Linked DNA regions of Homo sapiens: regions 2, 3 and 4 are each linked to region 1. Evidence: promoter capture Hi-C in human tissues and cell types (Jung and others, 2019). All regions are on one chromosome and are shown on one strand. The core of a region is centred on a gene start or on the middle of the fragment in contact, and the rest is flanking DNA. Distances in the headings are between cores, read along the strand shown.

The links. Contacts are between HindIII fragments. The study calls those that stand out against the background at their distance.
Region 2: a fragment that was not itself captured here is called in contact with the fragment with the promoter of FSCN2 in region 1 in 3 of the 25 tissues and cell types used here (dorsolateral prefrontal cortex, mesenchymal stem cells and mesendoderm cells).
Region 3: a fragment that was not itself captured here is called in contact with the fragment with the promoter of FSCN2 in region 1 in 1 of the 25 tissues and cell types used here (mesendoderm cells).
Region 4: a contact is called between the fragment with the promoter of AATK here and the fragment with the promoter of FSCN2 in region 1, in 4 of the 25 tissues and cell types used here (bladder, dorsolateral prefrontal cortex, lymphoblastoid cells and 1 more).

What each region holds. Positions count from the first base shown.
Region 1 is chr17:81,527,103-81,530,609 of GRCh38, forward strand. It overlaps FSCN2 (fascin actin-bundling protein 2, retinal), which reads left to right and starts at 1,275. Exons shown (of 5, transcript NM_012418.4): 1 at 1,275-2,255. The coding sequence starts at 1,430. RefSeq lists enhancers at 1,197-1,723, 1,724-2,249. The HindIII fragment of the contact is 15,570 bases long and covers 1-3,507 here.
Region 2 is chr17:81,268,479-81,271,900 of GRCh38, forward strand. It overlaps SLC38A10 (solute carrier family 38 member 10), which reads right to left. Exons shown (of 16, transcript NM_001037984.3): 10 at 2,440-2,546. Among named protein-coding and RNA genes, the nearest start is that of SLC38A10, 25 kb to the right of the region's middle. The HindIII fragment of the contact is 5,517 bases long and covers 1-3,422 here.
Region 3 is chr17:81,087,023-81,090,375 of GRCh38, forward strand. All of the region lies in intron 6 of BAIAP2 (BAR/IMD domain containing adaptor protein 2), which reads left to right. Among named protein-coding and RNA genes, the nearest start is that of MIR657, 37 kb to the right of the region's middle. RefSeq lists an enhancer at 2,709-3,210. The HindIII fragment of the contact is 9,149 bases long and covers 1-3,353 here.
Region 4 is chr17:81,164,580-81,167,830 of GRCh38, forward strand. AATK (apoptosis associated tyrosine kinase) reads right to left here and starts at 1,642. Exons shown (of 14, transcript NM_001080395.3): 1 at 1,359-1,642. The coding sequence starts at 1,413. PVALEF (parvalbumin like EF-hand containing) reads left to right here and starts at 928. Exons shown (of 7, transcript NM_001354639.2): 1 at 928-1,168; 2 at 2,098-2,265. RefSeq lists enhancers at 1-439, 440-1,183. The HindIII fragment of the contact is 13,495 bases long and covers 1-3,251 here.

The DNA.
Region 1 (3,507 bases), core at 25-2,524:
CCCCTGAGTCTGTGCACACTCTGCCACCATGGCCCTGCCCACCTCTGGAGCCCACAGGTGCCCAGCCCAGGCCCCTTGCTTTTGGCTAGACTCCTGCCCTACGGGGACCCCCATGATGGCCACTCAGGAGATGGGCCCAGGAGGACAGGGGAGTGACTCCAGGCCATGACCGGAAGGGGCCTGTGGCCCCTGTTCCCAGTCCCCAGGGAGACGGGAGGGTCACACGCTGTTATGAGGAAGAGGACACCGGGCTGGCCCTGGCCCAGGGTGGCCAGCTCTGGTTTCACTACTTGGCCCCAAGCCCCTGAGGCAGGTGCAGGAGCCAGGCACGGTGAGCAGGGCCCAGTGCCCCTCAGGCTCTGGGGAAGGGGTACAGCCAGGTGGCCCAGAGCAAGGAGGTGCTGTAGACAGGTGTGACCACTTCCAGTCTCTCCCGGCCTGCTGGCCTTCATCCTCTCCCAGATTCCAAGGGCCACCGCTGGGAGCATGGGGTGGACATCGTCCCACCAGCCTCCTGGATCCACATCCGTAAAGACTCCAAAGTGAAGTGAGGCTGGCTTCACTCCAGCTCACAGCAGAGGAGGGGGCAGCCTCAGGGCCCAGCAACTTGCTCAGAGCGCACAGGAGTGCGCTGGGGCCGGGCCAGCCTGGCCCAGGGCCTCTGACTCTGCCCCCTGCCTGCAGGGCTGCACGGCCACTGTGTTCCACCCTCCAGCGTGGGTGGCAGTCCAGTGCGTCATTCTGGGGCCTGAGCAGTGTGGCCAGAGGCCGGTCTGGGGTGGAGGCGACCTGGGCTGCAGGTTGTGGCTGGGGTCCTTGCTATGCTTCTGGCAGCAGGAATCAGAGAAGCAGTAACTGGATCCAGCTGAGGGCCTGGCGGCCACCGAGGGTACGGGCGGCGATCAGGTTGCGGCCGAGCCGTGAGCGTTCCACTGGACGGCTTCTACATCCGGAAGGGCTGGGCCGGGCCGGGCCGGGAGCCCACACGGGGTTGGAGGAGGGGGGCAGGAACGAGAGAGGCCAAAAGGTGCAGGGCCGTGAAGAGGGGCGCTGGGCCCACGCTATGAGGAAAAGGGGATCAACCCTGCCCTCCAGCCCCGTAGGCCCTCAGGCCCTCGGGCTCTGGGCTCTGTGCAATCCGGGAGTGGCTGAAATCCAAGCTGAGGGTAATGAAAGGTGCTGCTCCTAAGCCGCACGTCTCTGATCCGCCCTCCCCGCCCGCCCTCTGCTGCCCGCGGGCCCTCTAAGAGCTGCCCAGGCTGCTGCCGCGGGTCAGAGGCGGGTCAGAGCAGGCAGGGGGTTCGTGACGCCGGCTGGGTCTGGGGGCTGTGGGCCAGCCGAGCCGACCCGGGCTTCTGGGGGACCGCGGGGGCCGTGAGCACTCAGAGGGCGCATCCCAGGCCCCTCCGGGGACCCGGCCAGCCTGAAGATGCCGACGAACGGCCTGCACCAGGTGCTGAAGATCCAGTTTGGCCTCGTCAACGACACTGACCGCTACCTGACAGCTGAGAGCTTCGGCTTCAAGGTCAATGCCTCGGCACCCAGCCTCAAGAGGAAGCAGACCTGGGTGCTGGAACCCGACCCAGGACAAGGCACGGCTGTGCTGCTCCGCAGCAGCCACCTGGGCCGCTACCTGTCGGCAGAAGAGGACGGGCGCGTGGCCTGTGAGGCAGAGCAGCCGGGCCGTGACTGCCGCTTCCTGGTCCTGCCGCAGCCAGATGGGCGCTGGGTGCTGCGGTCCGAGCCGCACGGCCGCTTCTTCGGAGGCACCGAGGACCAGCTGTCCTGCTTCGCCACAGCCGTTTCCCCGGCCGAGCTGTGGACCGTGCACCTGGCCATCCACCCGCAGGCCCACCTGCTGAGCGTGAGCCGGCGGCGCTACGTGCACCTGTGCCCGCGGGAGGACGAGATGGCCGCAGACGGAGACAAGCCCTGGGGCGTGGACGCCCTCCTCACCCTCATCTTCCGGAGCCGACGGTACTGCCTCAAGTCCTGTGACAGCCGCTACCTGCGCAGCGACGGCCGTCTGGTCTGGGAGCCTGAGCCCCGTGCCTGCTACACGCTGGAGTTCAAGGCGGGCAAGCTGGCCTTCAAGGACTGCGACGGCCACTACCTGGCACCCGTGGGGCCCGCAGGCACCCTCAAGGCCGGCCGAAACACGCGACCTGGCAAGGATGAGCTCTTTGATCTGGAGGAGAGTCACCCACAGGTGGTGCTGGTGGCTGCCAACCACCGCTACGTCTCTGTGCGGCAAGGTAGGGAGGGCACAGGTGGCGACCTCCTGAGGGGTGCTGGGACCCCCCTGCTTCAGGGAGGAGGCCGTGGGGGTCTCACGGGGAGTGGTATCGTGTCTGTGCGTTCACATGTCTGTTCTGGGCTGGGGGTCCATGTGGGACATGTGTGGCCACTCAGGGTGTAGGTGGGTGGGCCTCGGGCCATGCCCAGGCGACCCCCACTGAGGGGTGGTGGCTTCAGGGTCAGAGGCAAGGGTTCCTGGCCTTTCTCAGCATAGCTGGAGAATGTCTCAGCCAAGCCCTGGGCAGCTGCGGAGTCTGAGACTGGAGAGGTGTGGGCCAGGCGATGGGCAGTGCCCAGCAGGGGCAGGAGGCCCACAGCCTGGCCTGGTGCCATGAGGGGCATGTGGGCAGGAGGCTGTGGGGGGTCCATATCTCCCCTTCTTTTTCTCCACCCCATTTTCTGGACTTCATTTATTTATTTATTTTTTGAGACAGAGTCTCGCTCTGTCACCCAGGCTGGAGCGCAGTGGCGTGATCTCGGCTCACTGCAAGCGCCGCCTCACGGGTTCACGCCATTCTCCTGCCTCAGCCTCCCGAGTAGCTGGGACTACAGGCGCCCGCCACCACGCCCGGCTAATTTTTTGTATTTTTTAGAAGAGACGGGGTTTCACTGTGTTAGCCAGGATGGTCTTGATCTCCTGACCTTGTGATCTGTCCACCTCGGCCTCCCAAAGTGCTGGGATTACAGGCGTGAGCCACCGTGCCCGGCTGCATTTTCTGGACTTTAAAGGAAATTGGGGAGGAGCCCAGGGTAGGGCAGGGAGCTGGGGATCGGGCGGGGATAGCACCACCACGTGCCTGACCAGTGGAGCCTCGTGTCCTCAGGAGTGGGGGGGCTTAAGGTCAGCTCCAGTGATGGAGGACACGGTGGGCAGGCAGCTTTACCCGGGGCCTGGGCTCCTGGTGGGGAGGCACCTCCCTGCCCCAGTGGGGCGTGGCCTGGCTCTCCCCAGTTCCCAGGTCACCAGTTGCCTGTCTGTGTGACTCCCTCCACCGCCTATGGGGTGAACCCCAGCAGTTCCTCCTTCCCCACAAGCTGAGCTCTGAGGGAAAAGCCCTGGCCCGGGCAGTCACTACCCACCTGGGCTCCTGGCTCCATGCACCCCAGAGTGGCTCGGAGGTGGTCTGAAAAGGCGAGGTGGGGAGAGCCGGGTGCATGGAGCTCCTCCTCCCAACTCAGGTCCTTCCAGACCAGCATCAGCTGGGCAAG
Region 2 (3,422 bases), core at 423-2,922, 260 kb before region 1:
CACTGCAACCTCCACCTCCCGGGTTCAAGTGATTCTCCTGCCTCAGCCTCCCAAAGTGCTGGGATTACAGGAGTGAGCCACCATGCCTGGCTCAATAATTACTATTTGAAACAACAATAACAATGTCTTGTGGAGTTTTAAATAAGGGTTGATATCAACTGCCTAGTATAATCATTAGAAGAATAGAAATGTACCAACAAGCCAAAAAAAGAGTAAATATTTAAAATGTTTGATTGATCCAAAGAAAGTAAAAGCAAAAACAGAAAAAGGACATATGAGACAAATAATAGGACATAAGTTGAAAGTTTTCCCTCAAAAATCAGTTATTATATTAACTGTAAATAGTCTTAAATACTCCCATTCACAGACTGAATAAGAACAAGACAAAAGTCAACTGCATGCTGTTATAAGAGACATACCATGAATATAATGGACTAGAGAAATCAAAAGAAAAGGGATGAAACAAGCTATCCTGTGCAAATACAAACCCAAAGCAGAACTAAGTTAGCTACAAAGCCAACTTTAAGGAGAAAAGTATTTCCAATGATAAAAAGGAGTATTTAACACGATAAAAGACAATTCAACAAGGAGATATAACCAACTTCAATCTGTCTGCTCCTAATAACATGGCTTCAAACTAAAAAGCAAAAAGTGATGGAACTAAAAGGAAAAATAAACAAATCTGCAGTTACAGTAGGAATTATCATACCTTTCTCACAACTCATAAACAAGATGATTAAAAAATCCATAAGGGGCTGGGTGTAGTGGCTCACGTCTATAATCCCAGCACTTTGGGAGGCTGAGGCGGGTGGATTATTTGAGGTCAGGATTTGAGACCAGCCTGACCAACATGGTAAAACCCTGTCTCTACTAAAAGTACAAAAATTAGCTGGGTGTGGTGGCACACACCTGGAATCCCAGCTACTCAGGAGGCTGAGGCAGGAGAATTGCTTGAACCCAGGAGGCAGAAGTTGCAGTGGACCTGAGCCAAGATGCTGAAGAAGTGGCTGACACACGTGGACGTGTATTCTAATGTACACTGTAAGAATCTATTTACCGCAACTTGAAGACAAGGCAAGATCATTCCAGAATGCCGGAGGACCTTTGGGGTGGGGGTGGATGTCAGTGAGGCATCCATAGGGAGCTCTGGGGTGCCGGGATGTCCTATGTCTGCTCTGGATGGTGGTTCCACGTGGTTCACTTTGTAAAAACTTATCAGGTTGAGGCCGGGCGCATTGGCTCACACCTGTAATCACAGCACTTTGGGAGGTGGAGGCGGGTGGATCACCTGAGGTCAAGAGTTCAAGACCAGCGTGACCAACACGGAGAAACCCCGTCTCACTAAAAATACAAAATTAGCCCGGCGTGGTGGCTACTCAGGAGGCTGAGGCAGGAGAATCACTTGAACCTGGGAGGCGGAGGTTGCAGTAAGCCGAGACTGCGCCACTGCACCCCAGCTTGGGCAACAAGAGTGAAACTCTGTCTCAAAAGAAAAAAAAAATTATCAATATATTCCAGTAAGAAAAAGCTCAACAACTCCATAAAAAGTGAGCAAAGAACACAAGCAGTTCACAGAAAAAGAAACGCAAGTGGCTTCTAAACCCATGAAAAGACACTCAAGTTCCCGCCAGAGAGGCCAAGAATGATGAAGCCTGGAAGGTCCTGGGTGCAGGGACAGAGGCCTTGAGCCTGGCTGGGAGTGACGCTGCAGGCACTTTGGGTAGAGCCACCACATTTACAGATGCTCACACCCCTGACACAGGATTCCATTTCTAGAAGGCTTCCTACAGACGCGTGCTCAAATACGTCGACATGCTCATGAACACAGATATTCATCGCGATTCTGTCTGCAATAGCAAGACTGGAGAGGTGAGTCCTTCGGAGACTGGGATTATGGAATCTTCCTACCACGGAACCCATGAAACGGCTAAAAATAGCGAGGCAGCTCTGTGCCCACGGCTGTGGAGCAACCTGACCTGCACAGGGTTTTGAGCAAAAGCAGCAGGAAGCTGTGTTACAGTTAAAGAAAAACCCACAAGCACGCACATCTCCGTGGGAGGGTCGCACCAGGAACAACGGTGGGTGGTGGCCTCAGGGGTGGGCGGCTGGGGAGGGGACTCAGAGGTGGCAGCAGGTCCATGGGCAATCAGGCATCGCAGAAACACCATGGGGAAAGCGCTTACGACTCAGCTAAGTCGGCTCTCAGGAAAACCCGATGCACAGCTTGAGCAGCTTAGTGTGGCCCTGCTGGGCAAAGACCGTGCGTCCTGGTGAACCCAGGGTTCCCCAGGCTGACTGGACCAAGTCCCTTTTGTGGGTTTTAAGTTTCTTGATAGAACCCATCTGAAAACGCTGAACCAGGGGCTTCCTCCCGCCTCCACCTCTCCCCAGCCCAGACCCATCAGCCCTCGTCCAGGCCACCCCACGAGCAGCACGCACCTGGGAGGAAAGTGCGTTCTTGTGGATTTTCTTGTAGATCAGCGCCGGGCAGATGAAGCAGATGAGGCTTCCCATGGTCGCTCCTGTGAGGCCCAGGATGGTCTCCACTAGGATGGAGAAGTGACAGGAAGGGATGAGTGGGGAAGGGCTCTGGGAAGGAGGGGACCTGAGCTTTTGCCCTGCACACGGGTGAGCAAGCCAGCATTGAAGGAAATGCCGTCTAGGCGTGAGCCGGGAGCAGAGACGCCCTCTGTGCCCAGAAAGCCTGACAACCGCGGCTGATTCCTCCAACAGTGCATTTAGGCCCCGGGGTGAATTCTCTGATGGTTCATCTTTAAAGAGTCAGACACTAGGGACCTCCTGCCGAAACCAGATGCTGGCTGCGCACGGCACGGCTCCTGCGCCGCCTCTCCTGCCTGCTGCTCCATGAGTGGCCCTAGGAAGGCAGGACCTATCCTAGGGCAGGTGTAGAGGCCAGGGCCTGGCGGGTGCTGCCAGGCTGCAGCCCCTGCCAGGAGCCCAGACAGATCGCCTCTAGGGCTGTTCCCTGGGGAGAGTGCGTGCGAGTTCCCCTGTGATGTCATCCTCTGATGACAACGAGCTCTGTCTTGTCTGCTAGGGAGTGGGTGCATTTGGGTAACATAAATATGTTCAGAGCCTTCAACGCTTCCCTTGGTAATGCATCACCAAAATCAGAAGTCAAAAGAATCAACAGGACAGCATGCGCTGTTCTAGAATAGTTGGTTCTACAAATTGAGCCTGTGTCCCGGCACTGCAGTCTCTCTCTGCCCAGGTGTCAATGGGTGCCTGCTGTTCCATCAAGCTGACAGATTTTTTTTTTTTTTTTTTTTTTGGCTGGAGTGTAGTGGAGCGATCTCAGCTCACTGCAAGCTTCGCCTCCCAGGTTCACGCCATTCTCCTGCCTCAGCCTCCCAAGTAGCTGGGACTACAGGCACCCGCCACCACGCCCGGCTAATTTTTTT
Region 3 (3,353 bases), core at 245-2,744, 440 kb before region 1:
GTGCTGCGTGCTGAGTGGGCTGGGACGTAGGAAGGCCTGGCCGATGACAGGCACGGCCTGATGTGTGTACACCAGAACCTGGATGGTGGCTGACACAGGCCAGACCCAGAAACCCCTCGCCCACTTGCTGGGGTCATAGTGATACAGAAGAGAAAGAAACACAAAACAAGATGCCCAGTCGTGTGTAAAGGAAACATCAGGAAAACCCCTGGCCAGTCACCCAGGTAGAAGCTTCTGGGCTGCACCCTGGGGTGGGCAAGGTGTGGCTGTGGGTGAAGCCCGGGCCTCCAGGCCGCACCCTTCCTGCTGGCAGTCAGGTTTTCAAGCCTTGGCAAGCCCCGCACACACCTGCCCGTGTGCGTGTGTCTGCGTGTGTGTGTGCGACCGTCTCCTTGGTGCCGGATGTGGGTGCTCATGAGTGGCTGTGGCCTCGCCCTGGGACTGGGAGGCCGGTTCCTGCTCAGAGCCTGTGCCCCCGCTCCCTGCTTAACTGCAGGGAAGCCAAGCAGGTCTGCCCACACCCTGCAGACCAAGCCAGAAGATTTCCAGTGTGGGGTCGCCTGGTGGAGCTGGATCGGCCCCAAAGGAGAGGACGGGACTAGGCCAGGGGCAGATGAGAAGGATAAGTGAGAGTCTGTGGAAACAGCCATACGGGGGAGCTGGGGGTCCCTCGGGTGCCCGCTGCTGTTTGCAGCCTCCCACTCAGGCATGCTTGGTGCACAGTTGCAGGGACGCAACTCAGGCCGTTCTCTAGGGTGCCCTGCCCTCTCCAGCCACCTCTTCCCGTGTCCCCAGCCTTTGTTTTGATCCTGTTTTTCACTCCAGGTAAGCTGTGATGGGTCTTTTGATCCTTTCCGTTTTGCACTCCGGGTAAGCTGCCATCATGGGTCTTTCTATGATGGGCCCATCATGGTGGCCTTAGTATTCCTGCCTGAGGCTGCTGCAGCGAGCCGTCCTCAAGCTGTTTCTGTGAACAGAACCTGAGCAGTGGGCATGGGGAGTTGAGGAGGAGAAATAGGTATATGTTGGTAGACACTGTGTCTGTTTTTCTTCTTCCTCCCACCGTGGAACGTTTTGCTACTTTGCTTTCTGAAGACAAGCAGCGGACGGCACCCCTGCGGCCTGGAGGGCCATAGCCGCCTCCGAGCAGGTCAGGACAGTGCAGGTGTGAGCCAGCCCTGAGCACCGAGGCCAGGTGTGAGAGCTTGTCTTAAGGGGGACTTTCCTGGGAATGTCCCCAGCTTGGTGTTCTGGGGATGGGGATACTGAGGCCAGTTCACTGAGGGCTCAGCTGCCTGCTGGGGGTCCAGGAGCTTGAGCTCCCTTCTGCCCTCGAGGCTCTGTGGGTTTTTGCTAACAGCGTTTTTGAGATATAATTCACATCACCAGCAGTTCACCATTTCACGGGCACAGTCCAGTGGTTATGAGTGTTTGCAGCTGTGTGTCCATCACTCAGTCCGTTTTAGAGCATTTTTCAATCAGCAGTCACTCCTGGGCCCCTGGCCCCACCAGTCACCAGCCTGCCATTGGCCTCCGTAGACTTGCCTGTTATGGACATTCTGCGTAGCTGGAATCCCACAGTGTCCGGCCTTTGGTGCCTGGTGGCTCACGTGGCACGGAGGGTTCTTAAAGCTCATCGTGCCGTAGCCTGCGCCAGCCTCCTCCCCTCTTACTGTCGGGGGTCAGCCTTTCTTCCTTTTCATGGCTAAATCGTGTTCCATCGTGTGGGTACCGGAGGCTCCATCCTGCTCAGGGCCAGGGCCGTCTCCCTGGCACGGCCGGTACTGCCCTGTGGCTGAGCTCGCTGGGAGCTGGAGATCGCGGCGGGGTAGCATAGGGCCGGACAAAGGCAGAGGCTGGGGGCTGTCGGAGCCACTCCCCCTCCCTCCTGCAGGCTGGAGCCAGAGGCCTGAGGCCCCCACGCAGTCACTGTGGCCCTGCCGCACCAGCTCCCTGGTTTTCAGGTGCCCTGCCTCCCACTGCCAGGCCTCTTCAGGAGGGCCCTGACCGCACACCTGGCCTCTGCCTGCCCTCCGCGCTGCTCTGCCGTGGGCCCCGGGTGGTGGGATTTACTCCCGAGGCTGTGTGTGCACAGCTAGCTCCTCAAGCCCATCCCACACAGGGGTTTTGGAAGACCTTCTCCTTGCTGATGGCTGGTCTGTCTGTTTGCTGCATGTCCTGGCACTTTTGAGGTCTGTTGGGGGACCATGTTGGTGCCTCAGGGGCCCTGGAGGCAGGTCCCATCTGTTCTTCTCATGGGGGCTGTGAGCCACCTCCAGTGCCTCGGTGGACCCTTCGTTGACTGGCCCAAGGGTCACCTGATTCGCAGCCACAGGGGGCTGGACCTGGCGGTGACTCGAGGGGCCTTGGCCCTGCCTCAGTGCTGTGGTCCACGGTCTGGGCAAGGGGCCGCTGCTGGGTGCCCCAGGGGCTGACTGAACCATTTGGCAACAGAACTAAGGTGGCTGGTGGCTGGGCCCGTCCTGGGGCCCCTTGAGTGCCCTTTCGTGGTAAGCCAGGTGACCCAGTTTTGGGAGTAAGCCACAGCACCTGTTTCCCAACGGCTGCCACAGTCGTCACAAAGCCCCCCTCGTCCGCAGGAGGGCAGGCGGAGGGGGAGAGGGAGGGGGTCGTGGCCTTACAGGCTGTCTGCGTCCTGATGGGCCAGACCCCGGAGCCCGGCAGGGTCAGGAATGAGGGCAGCATTCCCATCTGTGGCTGCTAGTTGCCGAGGCAAATGGTCCCCCTAGCACCTGTGAGTGGGTCTGGGCGGGGACCATGTGGGCGGAGAGGGCAGGCAGGGCCCCGAAGCGCATGGTAGGTGGAGGTTGCAGTGGGTGTGAGGTGAGGGTGGCCCAGCAGCCCCCTTGGAAAGGCCTCTGCCACCCGGTACAGAGACGCTTGGCGAGCCTCATCTTCTCGGCCTCCCAGGGCCCCTCCTGGGAGATGTGTGGTGCTGGTCTTTCTTCCCAGGTCCCAGGGGCCCTGCTGTGGCTCCCCAGCCCTGGCTGAGCAGCCTCCTTTCTCTAGAACTTGCAGCTGCTCCTCCCCACTCACCAGGGGACCTGTGGGTGGCCCCAGGCTGGACTGTCCCCACCTGGGCACAGCCTCAAGGCCCTGGTGTCAGGCTTAGGCTTGGATCTGGCTCTGTCCCTTATGGGTCATGTGGCCGCAGCAAGCCCCAGAGCTTCTCTGAGCCTCAGTTTCCCCATTTGTGAGGGGGAATATCCTGGCTTTCTCCCTCTTCTGAGCACTGACGGGAAGGGCTGTAGAGCCAGGATGAGCCGACATCAACCTTCTCACGGTGCCTGCGTGGGGGCTCTCCTGGACGGACCTCCGCCTCTGCTCCTCCC
Region 4 (3,251 bases), core at 392-2,891, 360 kb before region 1:
GCCTCTCATGGCCAAGGACAAGGCTGGGCCCCGAGGCAGGGTATGGGCCGAGGGTCCTCTCTGTTCTGGGGGCAGAAAGGACCAAGCACCGTGGGCCACGCCTGGCATGGAGATGTGATGAGGACCTGCCCCAAGCCTCCTCCACCCCCTGCCCTTGGGCCGGGGAGACATTACAGCTGTTGCCGTGGCTGTTGGGCTCTGAGCCTTCACCTGCCCACCCCACAGGGACTTCCGAGCCCCAGGGGTCACTACAGGAAGTCATTTCTGAGCAAGTGACACCCACAGCCCTAAGCCCAGCAGACAGACCTCCCACCAGCTCCCTTCCTCCAGGGAGCAAATGCCTTCAGACCGAGATCTGCCCCGGGGACCCCCGTGCCTCCCTGCCAGGCTGCGTGCACTGGGCCCTGCTCCAGGGAAGGAGACACAGGAGATCACGTCACATGCAAACAGGCTTTGTTTGGGCTGGCTCAGCCTGGTGCCAGAGCCCCAGTGACGTGTGGGTGGGACTTGGCCCTGGGGCCATGGATGGCACAGGGCAGGGGGATTATCTCCCACTCAGGCCAAGCAGGGGCCGGATCTGGAGAAGCAGAGGTTTTAGAAAGCCCACTGCTTCCTGGTGACAGATGGGGCTTCCAGCTGTCCCCAGCCCCCTCTGCCTATCCCAGCTGTCCACCACAGCCAGGAGGCCAGGCAGCCATGGGTAATCTCGCCCTGCCCGGTGCACTGGCCATACGGGGTAAGAGGCCTGGCCTCAGGTCCCCTGCAGCCAGCTTGACAGCGTCACCTCGGGCCCCCACTGTCAGGGGATCTGGGCACCCACCAAGGCCCCTCTCTTCTGAGCCTCTGCCCACTGGGCTCTGTAATGTGGACTGGCCCCTGCTCCCCCCACATCCCCCGCCGGCTGCTGGTGGCTGGGCAGGGCTCTGAGAATCGCTCCCAGCCTGGGAAGAAGCCTCCCACGCCAGGGCCCCGGACCCAGGAGAGGCCATGGAAAGCCTGAACCCCAGCTGGCTGACACCCCCCACACCCCCAAGGGCCCTTAGTCTGAGACCAACTCTCCTGGACACCAGGGGCCCACGCAGGCCCTCCGTGCCCCAGTTACCTGTGCCCTGGAGGCAGCCACGGAGTCACGACCACGCGGGGGACGCCAGCCCACAGGCGGAGGCCGGTTTGTGCTGGGGCCCAGGGCCTGCCCCTCCGAGATCTGGGGCCGCCAGGGGGTCCGGCTGCTTCTGCTGCTGGGCTCGGGGCGGGGAAAGGGTTAATTTCCATGCAAACCGGGAGCCGTGGGGCCCAGGGGCATCACGTCCGCAGCGGAGGGAGGCAGCGGCGCGCAGGCCGGGCCGCCAGGGACTCACCGGGGTCGAAGTGCGAGCTGAAGGCGAAGCTGGGGTTGAAGAAGGACGACGACATGGCCGGGCCAGCGGCCGGCGGGCATCCCGGGAGGGCGCTGCGCTCAGGACGCCCGCGGCCCCGGCCCGAGCCGCCGCATCACCCAGCGGCCGCCGCAGGTGCGGAGCGCGCCGGCCCCCGCGCCCCGCGCCCCCCGCCGCAGCCGCAGAGCCCGCACCGGTGGGGGCGGCGGCGACAGACGAGGCGCTCCGCCCGGCCCTGGCGCCGCGGGGCTCCGCTGGTGCAGTCCGAAAACGCGGGCGGGAGCGCGCGCGGAGCGGCGCGGGGGAGGGGGGGGCCCTCCGCGGCCGGGGTGGCATGGGGGGAGCACGGAGAGGGGGACACGGAGGGGGAGACAGAGGGGAGCACGGAGTGGGGGACACAGAAGGGGGCTTGGAGGGGGGACACGGAGGGGAGGCATGGAGGAGGGGGGACGGGGGGCCGTGCACGGAGCGGGGATGGCACGGAGTGGGGGGATGGTCCGGAGCGGGAAGCACGGCGGCCTGGGGCTGAGGGGGGCACGGAGGCTGGCGGGGGGGGGGGAAACGGAAGTCGTGAATGGTAAGTCGTGAGTGGGTACGGAGGGAACGCCGGGGTGGGGGAGGGGGTACTCCTAGGTGGAAAGGTTCAGGGAGACAGGTGGGGGAACCCGGGAGCACACCCAGGGCGGGTCTTGGTGCTCAGGGGCCCTCGCCTCACTTGCAGGTTTCGAGGCGGCTGGCAGCCGCCCCCCCACCCCATGCCCTTTGGGTGGCACCTGTGCTGGTGGAGTGGGGGTGGCTGGCTTTGCACACAGGCCTGCTCCTGTACCGTGCTGCGACAGCCATGAAGGAAGAACCTGGCTGAGTCTCCACCTGCCGTGGACTGTACCAGGTGCTTAGGGCAGCAGGTTGGCCTGGGCGCTGAGGGGCCATCCCTTCCCCTATGTTTCTCCCAGGATCCCCCATCCCCGCCCAAAGTGCCACCTTGCAGGGTTGGGGCGGGGCAGGGTCCCCCCAGCCTGCCCCCGTGGGAGTCGGGAGAGTTAAAGTTCAGTGGAAGCTGGTCCCAGTGGCTCATGCCTGTAATCCCAGCACTTTGGGAGGCCAGGGCAGGCGGGTGGCTTGTGCTCAGGGGTTCCAGACCAGCCTGGGCAACATAGCAAGACACTTTCTCTACAAAAATTAGAAAAATGAGCCAGGCATGGTGGCGCTCACCTGTAGTCTCAGCTACTTGGGAGGCTGAGGTGGGAGGATCACTTGAGCCTGGGAGTTAGAGGCCGCAGTGAGCCAAGATGGCACCACTGCACTCCAGCCCGGGTGACAACAAGATCTTGTCTCAAAAAAAGTGTCCTGGAGACTTGCAGTTGAGTTTGATGCACCCTCATCCACTCATTCATTCACTCACTCATTCATTCACTCACTCATTCATTCACTCACTCATTCTGGGACCAGATGGCTAAGCCCCTTGGCAAGGCCCAGTTGGGGTTGGGGGCTGTGGAGCAGGTGAGAGGCGCCCACTCCAACAGGGCTCTTAGGACTTTAGGGAGAGAAAGGAGCCTGTTCCCGGCAGAGGGACCTGCAGAGACCAGGACAGGATGCTTGGGCCACGGGGCAGATGGGCACCAGGACCCACCCTTCTTTTCCTAAGGGGGTCCCTCATGTAGGAAGTTTCCTCCTAACAGGCAAAGCAAGGGGCCTCCACCCTGTGCCCTCAGACCTTAGGGGTCCCTGGCTGTAGGAGACAAGACACCAACTGCACCTGGGGCAGAAGGAGACAGGGCACCCAGAGCCTTCTTCCTGGCCCTGATCATGTGGCCAGCCAAGGTTCTAAGGGGCGCTGCCGCCAGGCTGCCGTTGCAGGTAAAGAAGCCGCGTGGG